Linked DNA regions of Homo sapiens: region 2 is linked to region 1. Evidence: promoter capture Hi-C in human tissues and cell types (Jung and others, 2019). All regions are on one chromosome and are shown on one strand. Each heading gives the region's core, a stretch centred on a gene start or on the middle of the fragment in contact. The rest is flanking DNA. Distances are from core to core; before and after follow the strand shown. Region 1 holds the start of NKX2-4 (NK2 homeobox 4). Region 2 overlaps LINC01726 (long intergenic non-protein coding RNA 1726).

The links. Contacts are between HindIII fragments. The study calls those that stand out against the background at their distance.
Region 2: a fragment that was not itself captured here is called in contact with the fragment with the promoter of NKX2-4 in region 1 in 1 of the 25 tissues and cell types used here (mesendoderm cells).

What each region holds. Positions count from the first base shown.
Region 1 is chr20:21,394,748-21,399,422 of GRCh38, forward strand. NKX2-4 (NK2 homeobox 4) reads right to left here and starts at 2,779. Exons shown (of 2, transcript NM_033176.2): 1 at 2,211-2,779; 2 at 618-1,786. The coding sequence starts at 2,652. The coding sequence ends at 1,164. It overlaps LOC105372558 (a long non-coding RNA gene), which reads left to right and starts at 3,187. Exons shown (of 4, transcript XR_001754528.1): 1 at 3,187-3,829; 2 at 4,516-4,619. The HindIII fragment of the contact is 9,137 bases long and covers 1-4,675 here.
Region 2 is chr20:21,692,430-21,697,104 of GRCh38, forward strand. The region is part of intron 1 of LINC01726 (long intergenic non-protein coding RNA 1726); the gene reads right to left. Among named protein-coding and RNA genes, the nearest start is that of LINC01726, 8.8 kb to the right of the region's middle. The HindIII fragment of the contact is 5,954 bases long and covers 1-4,675 here.

The sequences.
Region 1 (4,675 bases), core at 1,529-4,028:
TTTTAAAAACACATCAAGCCATGTATAAACTTAATGAAAAAGAAATGACCACTTGACTTTTAGAAAAAAGAACTTGTTTCTTTTAAGTTATATTTAAATATCCATTAGAAACATAGGAAATATAAATCGGCATATTAAAGAGTAAATACATTATTTGTACAATAAAACACCAACAAAACCAGTGCAACTCCTAAGTTCTAAATATGGTGGAAAAATTATATTGTAGTTACTTATTCCTTATATCTTGATTACAATTCAATAAATCACCTTTCTTCTTCTTGTCATGCTTTGAATATAGATTAATTGATGTCAATTTTAGAAATTTTACTTGTTTGTTCTAGTACTTTATCAAGGTATTCAAATTCAGACAAGAAAATACCTCAAAGAGAGTAAATACCATGTTTACAGAAGGATAGGGTTATTTATTTTCTCAGTTGATGTTGGGAGACCAGATTTCATATACAAATAGTATACAACCTTTCTTATGGTGAGCTGCATCTTAGGGGGGAAAATCCTCTTTTAGCGTAACATACAAACACTCACTTGCCAAATAATCATCAAAACATTTTGAAATCAGCATTAAATTTAAAAAGCTCCATCAATCCATATAATCAGTATTTTATTTTGATTCCATTGCTCTATTACCTAAATGGCAATAATTCCTCTGCAATAATGTTGCTATGTGTATGATCCACCTTGAGCTACACTTCAATTTACTTTCAATCAAACATTAATGAAATTGCACTTAGGGGGCCCTTCGAAAATTAATCTCCCAAGATAAATTCCACTTCAAAAAGGACTGATTGTTAAAGCTGGGTTGATTTTTATAGTTACAAACGCCAACAAAGTTTCCAACTTTGAGAGCTGTAGTTAAGAATGCCGTGTGAACTTCTCCACCTTTTCGCGTCATTTAAGAACTTCTAGGAGGAGAAAATCACCACCTCAAAGCCTCGTGGCATAATGTTACACTACTCGGTTTCCGGGCTGTCGCTGTCCCCCGCCCCCAGCAAGAGGTTCACAGCCTGCTCCTCTCTGAGACCGGTTCGTTTTGAATCGCAGTTTACACGCGCGAGTCGGTTTTCGCATGCCTCCCCCATCCGTTCTAGCAGTTTCTTGCAGACCCTTCGGGTGCACCAGGACCTAGCCCCGGGGCGCCCTCGCTGTCACCACGTCCTGCCATAGAGCAGGTTGGCGCCCAGGACGCCGCCGCTGTACTCCCCGGCGGCCGCGTCCAGGGCCGCCAGGCCGCCCCCCGGGCCGTGCAGCGCGGGTGGGCTGGGCGACAGCTCCTCCAGCTCAGGTGCTGGCGTCGGGGCCGGCGGCTGCGGACCGGCCTGGCCGGGGGTGGGCGTGCTGGCGCCGTTCTGGCACGGCTTGCCGTCCTTGACCAGCACAGGCACCGCCACGCGGCGCGGGGACGGCGGCGGAGGCGGCGGCGGGCCCAGGCCGCCCTCCTGCTGCAGCTGCTGCGCCGCCTTGTCCTTGGCCTGCCGTTTCATCTTGTACCGGTGGTTCTGGAACCAGATCTTGACCTGCGTGGGCGTCAGGTGGATCATGCTGGCCAGGTGCTCGCGCTCGGGCGCCGACAGGTACTTCTGCTGCTTGAAGCGCCGCTCCAGCTCGTAGACCTGCGCCTGCGAGAAGAGCACGCGGCGCTTCCTTCGCGGAGCGGCTGCCGCCGCCGCCGCGTGCAGCGGGCCCAGCGACTTGGCGGCGTCCGCGATGCCGGTCAGCGACCCCATGCCGGCCACATTCACGCCCGCCGACGGCCCCATGAACCTGGAGACTGGGGAAGAGTCCCAAGGGGGAAGGCGAGTGAGCTCCAGGCCCGCCGGGAGCCGGTCCAGCCGCCGCTCTCTTCACGCCGCGGCCGCGACGCCGCCGGGCCCTCGCTGAATCCCAAGACCCCCTGACCGCCGCGGCCTCCGGCCCCAGCACGCCCCGCGCGCCCTCGGCGGGTCCCAGAGCACCACGCCCTCAACGGGTCCCAGGACGCCGCGCGCGTTCCCGGTCAGGTCCCAGGACCCCCCGCGCGCCCAGGGTCCCCAGAAACCCCGCGCGTCCCGGGCCGCGTCCCAGGACGCCCCGCGCGCCCGCTCGGCCCCAGGACCTCCTAAGCCGCGCGCACCCCGTCCCGCGCCCCCGCGCCCCTCGGCTGTGGCGGGAAACGCCTGAGCCGCCCGCAGCCCCGCGCTCCTGGCCCCTCTCACTTGACGAGTAGCGTGGGTCCGGGTTGGCGCCGTACCAGCCGGTGGCCGCGCCGCCCCGCATGCCGTCCGTGTAGGCGGGCAGCTCGCCCATGTTGCCCAGGCCGCCGTTGCAGTAGCTGCCCATGGCGCCGTGCGGGAACTGCGAGACGCCGGGCGGCATGTGGTAGGTGGCGGCCGCCGCCGCCGCAGCTGCTGCCGCCGCCGCCGCGGCCGCCGCGTTGTGACCCGCCATGGCGTGAGAAGGCTGCATGCCCGCCACGGTCGCCGCCTGCGAGGAGGGCCCAGGTGGCGGCGCGCGGTAGGCGGCCGCGGCCCCCAGGGGCGCCCCCAGGCCGGGTGGCGCGCCGTCCATGGCGCCGCTGAACTTCTTGTAGGTCTCCTCGATGGGGCTCAGGATGTCGGACACGGAGAAGGGCGTCGTGTGCTTTGGGCTCAACGACATGGCTCGGCGGGCAGCCAGGTAGGGGGGCCTGGGGCGCGCGCCGGCAGGACGCGGCGGCCGCTCGTCGCCGCCACCTCGGCCGCGGCAGCTGAGCCTGTGACGAGGAGTCGGCGGCTCGGCGAGCCCCCCGGGCTGCGGGATCTGGGGTTTATTTTAGTCCGGCGCCAGGTTTACGACAGACTCGGGGGGCGGAGCAACATCCCAAACGAGCAAACAATGGTCATTGACATCTTTTTCTCTCGCCCCCCCAACCCCCGCCCCATAATGGAGGCAAAAAAAGGTAAAAGGGGCAGTTGGGTGTTTCTTGGAAAGATCACTCCCCGTTGCTTTTCCCATCTTTGCTTTTCCCATCCTTTGCTTTTCCCATCCTTCGCTCCTCCATCCGCGGCCGTTACCCCAGCCCTCGAGCACCAGAAATAGAAACTCGGAGGCTGGCGTCGAGGCTAGACATGGACTCCGCGCCTGGCCCCTTCCAGATCCCAGTTTTCTAAAGTGACTTCGCACCAAAGTCCGGTATAATTGCGGAATGGGGAACGTGCTGCTAAGTTTGGGGGGAGGGTGTTGCGGGGGCTTGCTTCGTCCTCTCCAGTTATCAGCCCCTCATTCGCTCCATCACCTAAAGTGTTAAAAAAAAAAAAAAAGGCTCTTGGGTCCCACCGTAAGAGCGCATAAAGAGAGGAGGTACAATGACCGTCCTTTGCCATTGTAGGGCTCCCTAATTTATGCGTTTTTAGACCCTTAAGCATCATTTTGTGGGCAACCAAACGGGCACTTCCAAATTAGCTCAAAGTATCCAAGCCCAGAGAAGAGAGAAAACACACATACACTGATAAATACGCAGATGCTAACTTGTAAGTATTCTGTTTTTCCTCTGTGGGGATGGAAATTGAACAAGGGAAAGAGGGGGAACATTTTTATTTCCTAAAATGTTTCCTACTGAGTTTGCACTTGTAAAGTTTTTTCTGCTTTCTTTCCCTTTGTGTGTGTTCTTACTCTCTTTCTCTCAGTAAATATCTCTGACTTAAGTTTATTCTCCCATCACTACCGTGATCAAAAAGAAGAGAAAGACAAAATATCAAAACTTCCAAATATTTCTAGTTGTTCGCAACGGGTCTTTTTGTTGTTGTTGGAAAAATATAACCTGTTCAAGCGATATGAAAATGGATGCAGAAATCAGGTGAAAATTGTAGTTTCTTTGGAAAAATACAAAACCATAGATAAACAGATTTTTAAAACTTTGTCATCCTTTGACTTGCAGTTTTACCCGAATACTTAGACATTATGAACTCTCTACTAAATACTGAACAAGACAAAGCATAAGACAAAAGCAGTGTGCAAAGCATATTGATTAAATTTTGAAAACAATCTTGCAGCAATAATAATGATAACGAGAAAACAAAGATAACACTTTTAAGTTTTCCTGGAAACTGGAGCAGGAGAAAGAAAAACAAGGAGAGTGCTTTCTTAAGCAATATTTTGTTTTATTTTTTTTCCAGAAAAGGGTGTGTGGAATCGATTTAAGTTTAACCTGACAGTACATGTCTTGAAGGCAAGAACAGTGTTACATATTCCTTTTTCTGTTTGGTTTTAGCCCTTTGGTGGAAATGTTCTCCATGGTTTTGTTCTTAGGATTTTAATAATTGTTTTGTTCAACTCAGTATGGTTTTGCAAAGAATCTGCCCTTTCTAGGGGGGAAAAAGCCATAGGTCACCTGTGGGAAGGAAGTGACAGACGAATGTTAAGAGTAATGTTTTAATATACTGTAAAAATAAAATGCAAGGTTACAGGAATTGTTTACAAACATCAGTATTGACTTAGCAAGATTAATATTGCTACAGTTTTAACACGATGCTACTTTTACAGGTCTTTTATGAACTTGAAACACATCGGCTAGGTCTTCATCCTCACCTGCACTGGAATTACCTACTTAAGAAAAACAAACTAATGATACACAAAGAAGCACTTATGTATGTATTTAAACACTTGCTGGGATCCTTCTGAAAACTACAGTTTGAATTTTACG
Region 2 (4,675 bases), core at 1,334-3,833, 300 kb after region 1:
CTGGGCTCCTTGACTCCTGCCTTTGCTTCCCTCTGCGGTCCGACCCCTCAAGGCCATCCTCCAAGGGCTGCTTTGATTTCCAGGGGTTGCTCCCAAGACTGAGTGTTTTAGGGTGGGAGCACAGAGAGGAATAACATTGTGAAAGTGCAACTCAACTCAGAAGAGATTTTAAAAATGAGGCTTTGTTGCTTTCCAGGGAGGAATATCTAGGATGCCAGCAGGCTAAGGCTTGCAGAAATTCTGCCTTAGTGAATAGCTAAGATCGTCTCACAGTTAGCCAAGCAAGGAAGTCTGTCCGAGCATCTTTCCTCTCTTGGCATTCCGAGCTCACAGCTCATCTGGCTTCCTCTTGATTTCTCAGTACCCTCATGGTTAGTCTTGAAAACCATGATAACAATTATGTATTATATGAAAATTGTCATCTATTATAGCTATATAATATTATTATAATAACAATCATTTATTGAGCACTTGTTATGCAGCTGACATTGTACCAAACTCCTTATCTTTTTCATCTCATTTAATTGTTGGCCATCCTCACAAAATGGGTTCTGTTGTGACTTCATTTTCCAGATGGAAAAACTGATGTCTGGAGGTTAGATGACTTGCCTGGGTCACAGGATGCAAGTGGGTGAGTCAGGAGGCCTCTTCAGGCTGAAGTCAATGTTCCACCTCCCAGGACTTGGGCCTCTCCCCTCGCTGGATGCCCCCCTCAATTCAGTAACCGCACTTTAACCTGCCTTTTGGGCTCATGAGTGATCAACTTCAACCCTCTTTCCTGCTCTCCGCGCCACCACATCCCACACTGCCCAGCTCCTTTCTTGAGCCAAACTGTCTCAAGCCTGCTTTCCTGTGACTTTACCTCTGCGACCACCTTTGCTTTCCCAGGGAGACGTTTCCTGTCCTTCCTTTGGCCTCTGGACTTCCGCCTGTCAAACTCCACCCATTGGTCAAGGTCCGTCTGAGATGCCAATTCCTTCCTGAAATGCCCCGTATTCTTTGGCGGCCCCTGGCCTCCTCAGTCTCAGAAATGTGTGTTCACCTTGTTTCTGCTTACAGTGGGGCTCAAAGTATTCTGCTACAGCACCCCCTCCTGGTTCCCAGAGGTAAATGCCCTGCCACTCCGGAAAGGGACCTCAACCTGTTCTAGACAACCAGGGCGGCATTTTTAAATGTTTTCTATTCTGTCCTTCAAATGGACAAAAATTTCTATCCTGCGCCAGGAAGAGTTTACACTTGTTTTGATATCAAAATAATGTTATTTTCCAAAATCATTAGGTGAGGTTGAGATTTCAGGAAGACGTGCTTTCCTGTGGTGGGCCCTTCCTCCATCCCACTGCCAAGTACTAAAAGGAGAGGCACATCCAAGTTTAAGAAGCAGGTGAGCAGAACACAAAGTCCTCAAAGGCAAAAACTGCCTCTCGCCCTGCCTCACCAGCGGGTGTCGACTGTAGAAAGAATGAACTTTATATTTGCTCAAATGGATTACACGTTAACATCACCTCTTAAAGGGTCTGAAAATCATTTATTTCTCAGCAGATGTGGGTTTTCCTTGTGATCAAAATGACTTGATTAATTTGCTCAATGAAGCTATTTTTTAGAGCTGGTATGAGCCCACCAACATAGTTTATGTTCCCAAGTTCTAATTTGTGGGGTCCCTAGGAAGTTCTGTCGCTTTTCCATTTCAGAAATCTACATGTGCTGGAAACAGAGCCAGACCACATTCTTAAATCGCTGCATTTGTCACAGAGCCCTCCCACCTCCATATTCGTTGCCTTTCTCTTGCTGCTGAGATTCTAAGAGACCCGATGTTAACCTAACTCTGACGTGGCCCTGCTGTAGCTCAGCCTGTCCCCTCCTTGCTCTTGGGGCACCACAGGCTAAATCATTTCCTTTGGGCAAGAACTCCCACTTTCTCAGAATAATTCCTCCTGCCAGGGCATGGGGGCTGTGGCTGGAGCCACAGAGATAGAAATCTCTGTGTGATTGGGTAGCAATGATTTTATCTCCATGCCTTCATCTTTGCAGCAACAAAACTGTTATAACAAACCCACATGGTTGGCATGGCATGGGCTGGATTTCCCGGCAGGCAGCTGGTGTACTGGGAAGAGTTATGGAGATTGATGCCTGTGAGGGATGAGGAGCAGGGCTGACCAGGAGAGAAGTCTGACTGTGATGCAGTAGCAAAACAGATCCAAGCTGATCTTCCGTGGAGCTCTGGTGCTGGGATGGTCCTCAGAGTTGTCCTCCATTGAAGCTTTTGTACCCCACAGTGAGTGGTCCCCAGGAAGGGGGTGTTTGCTTGGGTTTTATGGTTCTCTTTAGCCTAAGGCAATGGAAAGGAGGCTCTGCTGTGAGCCACCAGCCTTGAGGGAATGAGCGTCTCAGTGCTGGTGGGGGGATCTGGGCATGCTGGGCAACGTTAGCTACAATACACAGCTGCCCAACCTCATGGTGAACAGAGGCCATGAGCTCCCTACAGCACTCCACCGCATTAATAAGGACGAATAACTAGGAGCCTGCTTATCCCAAGAGTACAACATTTTCATAATAGAAGATGTCACTTCACTAAAATCTTAGACATCAGGCACCTCAGGGATTGCGGAGAAGTTATAGATGGGGGCAACCCAAGAGAGGCGTGAATTTTTTGAAAAATGGTAATTTGGGATAAATGGAAGAGTCAAGTCTCACTGTTCCTTAGTCAGGAACGCTTGTCACAAGCAAAGGCCTGCTCAGAGAGCCAGTCCCTGAACCCCAAGCCCAGGCTTGATTTGTAAGGGACTGGGCCCATTCCCTGAGGGAGCTCCTGGTGAAAGAACATGTTCAGAAGGCAAACAAGGAAGGGGAAAAACCACACTCAGGACAAAAAAGCATAACAGTAAACACAGAAGTAAAATATCTTCTTCTTTCTGGCAAAGGAAGAGCTTGATGTTACAGTGGGTTTAGCCAGAACAAGCCGGTGATACCTGTTTAGCACAGGGCCCAGCATTTCAAGAGGACTGGGCCTCAGGAAGAACCATAGTTCTCCCATGGTACAGGAAAATACCTGGCCAGCTGTGGATTGCCGTCTTCCTCAGCTTTCTGAAACTGGAGAGCGTATAGCTGTCACTCACCACCTCCATCACTCATCTTCTATTGGCAACAGACGCTGCTAACCCTGTTTCCCTAGTGAGTGTCACTTCAGGGTCTTGAATGCAGCCCTGTGAAGTGCTTCTGAACCAAGGAAGAACATGACAAGCTAATGGAAACTCAGAAAAATAGGGCTGTTTTCTTCTCGAGACTCAATTTAAGATGGCTTGATTTGTACATATTTCTATTGGCAAATCATTCACTGCATGTTTAACAGATGTCCTATAAAAGAGACACAAAGGCCGGGAGCAGTGGCTCACGCCTGTAATCCCAGCACTTTGGGAGGCCGAGGTGGGCAGATCATCTGAGGTCGGGAGTTCGAGACCAGCCTGACCAACATGGAGAAACCCCATCTCTACTAAAAACACAAAATTAGCTGGGCGTGGTCGTGCATGTCTGTAATCCCAGCTACTCGGGAGGATGAGGCAGGAGAATCACTTGAACCTGGGAGGCGGAGGTTGTGATGAGCTGAGGTCATGCCATTGCACTCTAGCCTGGGCAACAAGAGAGAAACTTCGTCAGAAAAAAAAAAGACACAAATTAAAATGTATTAGTTTTTTAAAAGTATAGAAAAATAAGCAGGGCATAGTGGCTTATGCCTGTAATCCCAGCACTTTGAGAGGCTGAGACAGGAGGATTTCTTGAGGCCAGGAGTTCAAGACCAGCCTGGGCAGCATGGCGAGAGAAAAAATTAAAAAATTAGCCAGATGTGGTGGCGTGCACCTGTAGTCCCAGTTACTCAGGAGGCTGAGGTGGGAGGATGGCTTGAGCCTGGGAAGTCGAGGCTGTAGTGAGCTGTGTTTGTGCCACTGCACTTCATCCTGCTTGACAGAGGAAGACCTTGTCTCAAAAAAAAAGTATAGAAAAATAGTGTAATGAGAATAATGGCCAGTGATTCAGCATCTCCTGTCATCAAGTGTTTTCTGTGGTTAGGTGATTTGGCCCTGGCCATGACCCTATCATATAGATGAAAACACTGAGGTCCATGAGATCCATGAGATTAAGCCTCAGGAGGTGGAATCCAGAACATGGATTTCAGCCTGAGGACTTTTGAGCTAAAAAAAATGGCTGGACTTGTCCATATTGTACTTTTCTGTAGCCAGGTGGTTTTCTGAGTTCGAGGTGCATATGCATTTTTTGACCTATAAACACTGAGCCTTAAAGAGCATGTGTAGATCCTCTGTGTGCTTACTCGACAATGAAATACACACACACACACACACACACACACACACACATGCAGGCACTAGCCATGGGTAGTAGCTCTAACAGTGTCTGGTCACAAATTTTTTCAACCTTCCTAGCAGCCTAAATACTAGAGCTGCAAAGAGAAGCTCTGAAGGCACAATGAGAACAGAGGGTCATTCATTAAATCCCCACTCCCTCTGTAATGAAGGGCAGGTGAGTACAGCCTAAAATGGCAGAAGAACCTCAAGCCTGAGTCGTAACAAAACGCCATCAAACCCTGCCTAAAGCTATTCGTCCAAATTAAAGTTCTGCTGAATGTCAAGCCCCAGCCAATTCCACAGCTCCTCTTCCACAGTTA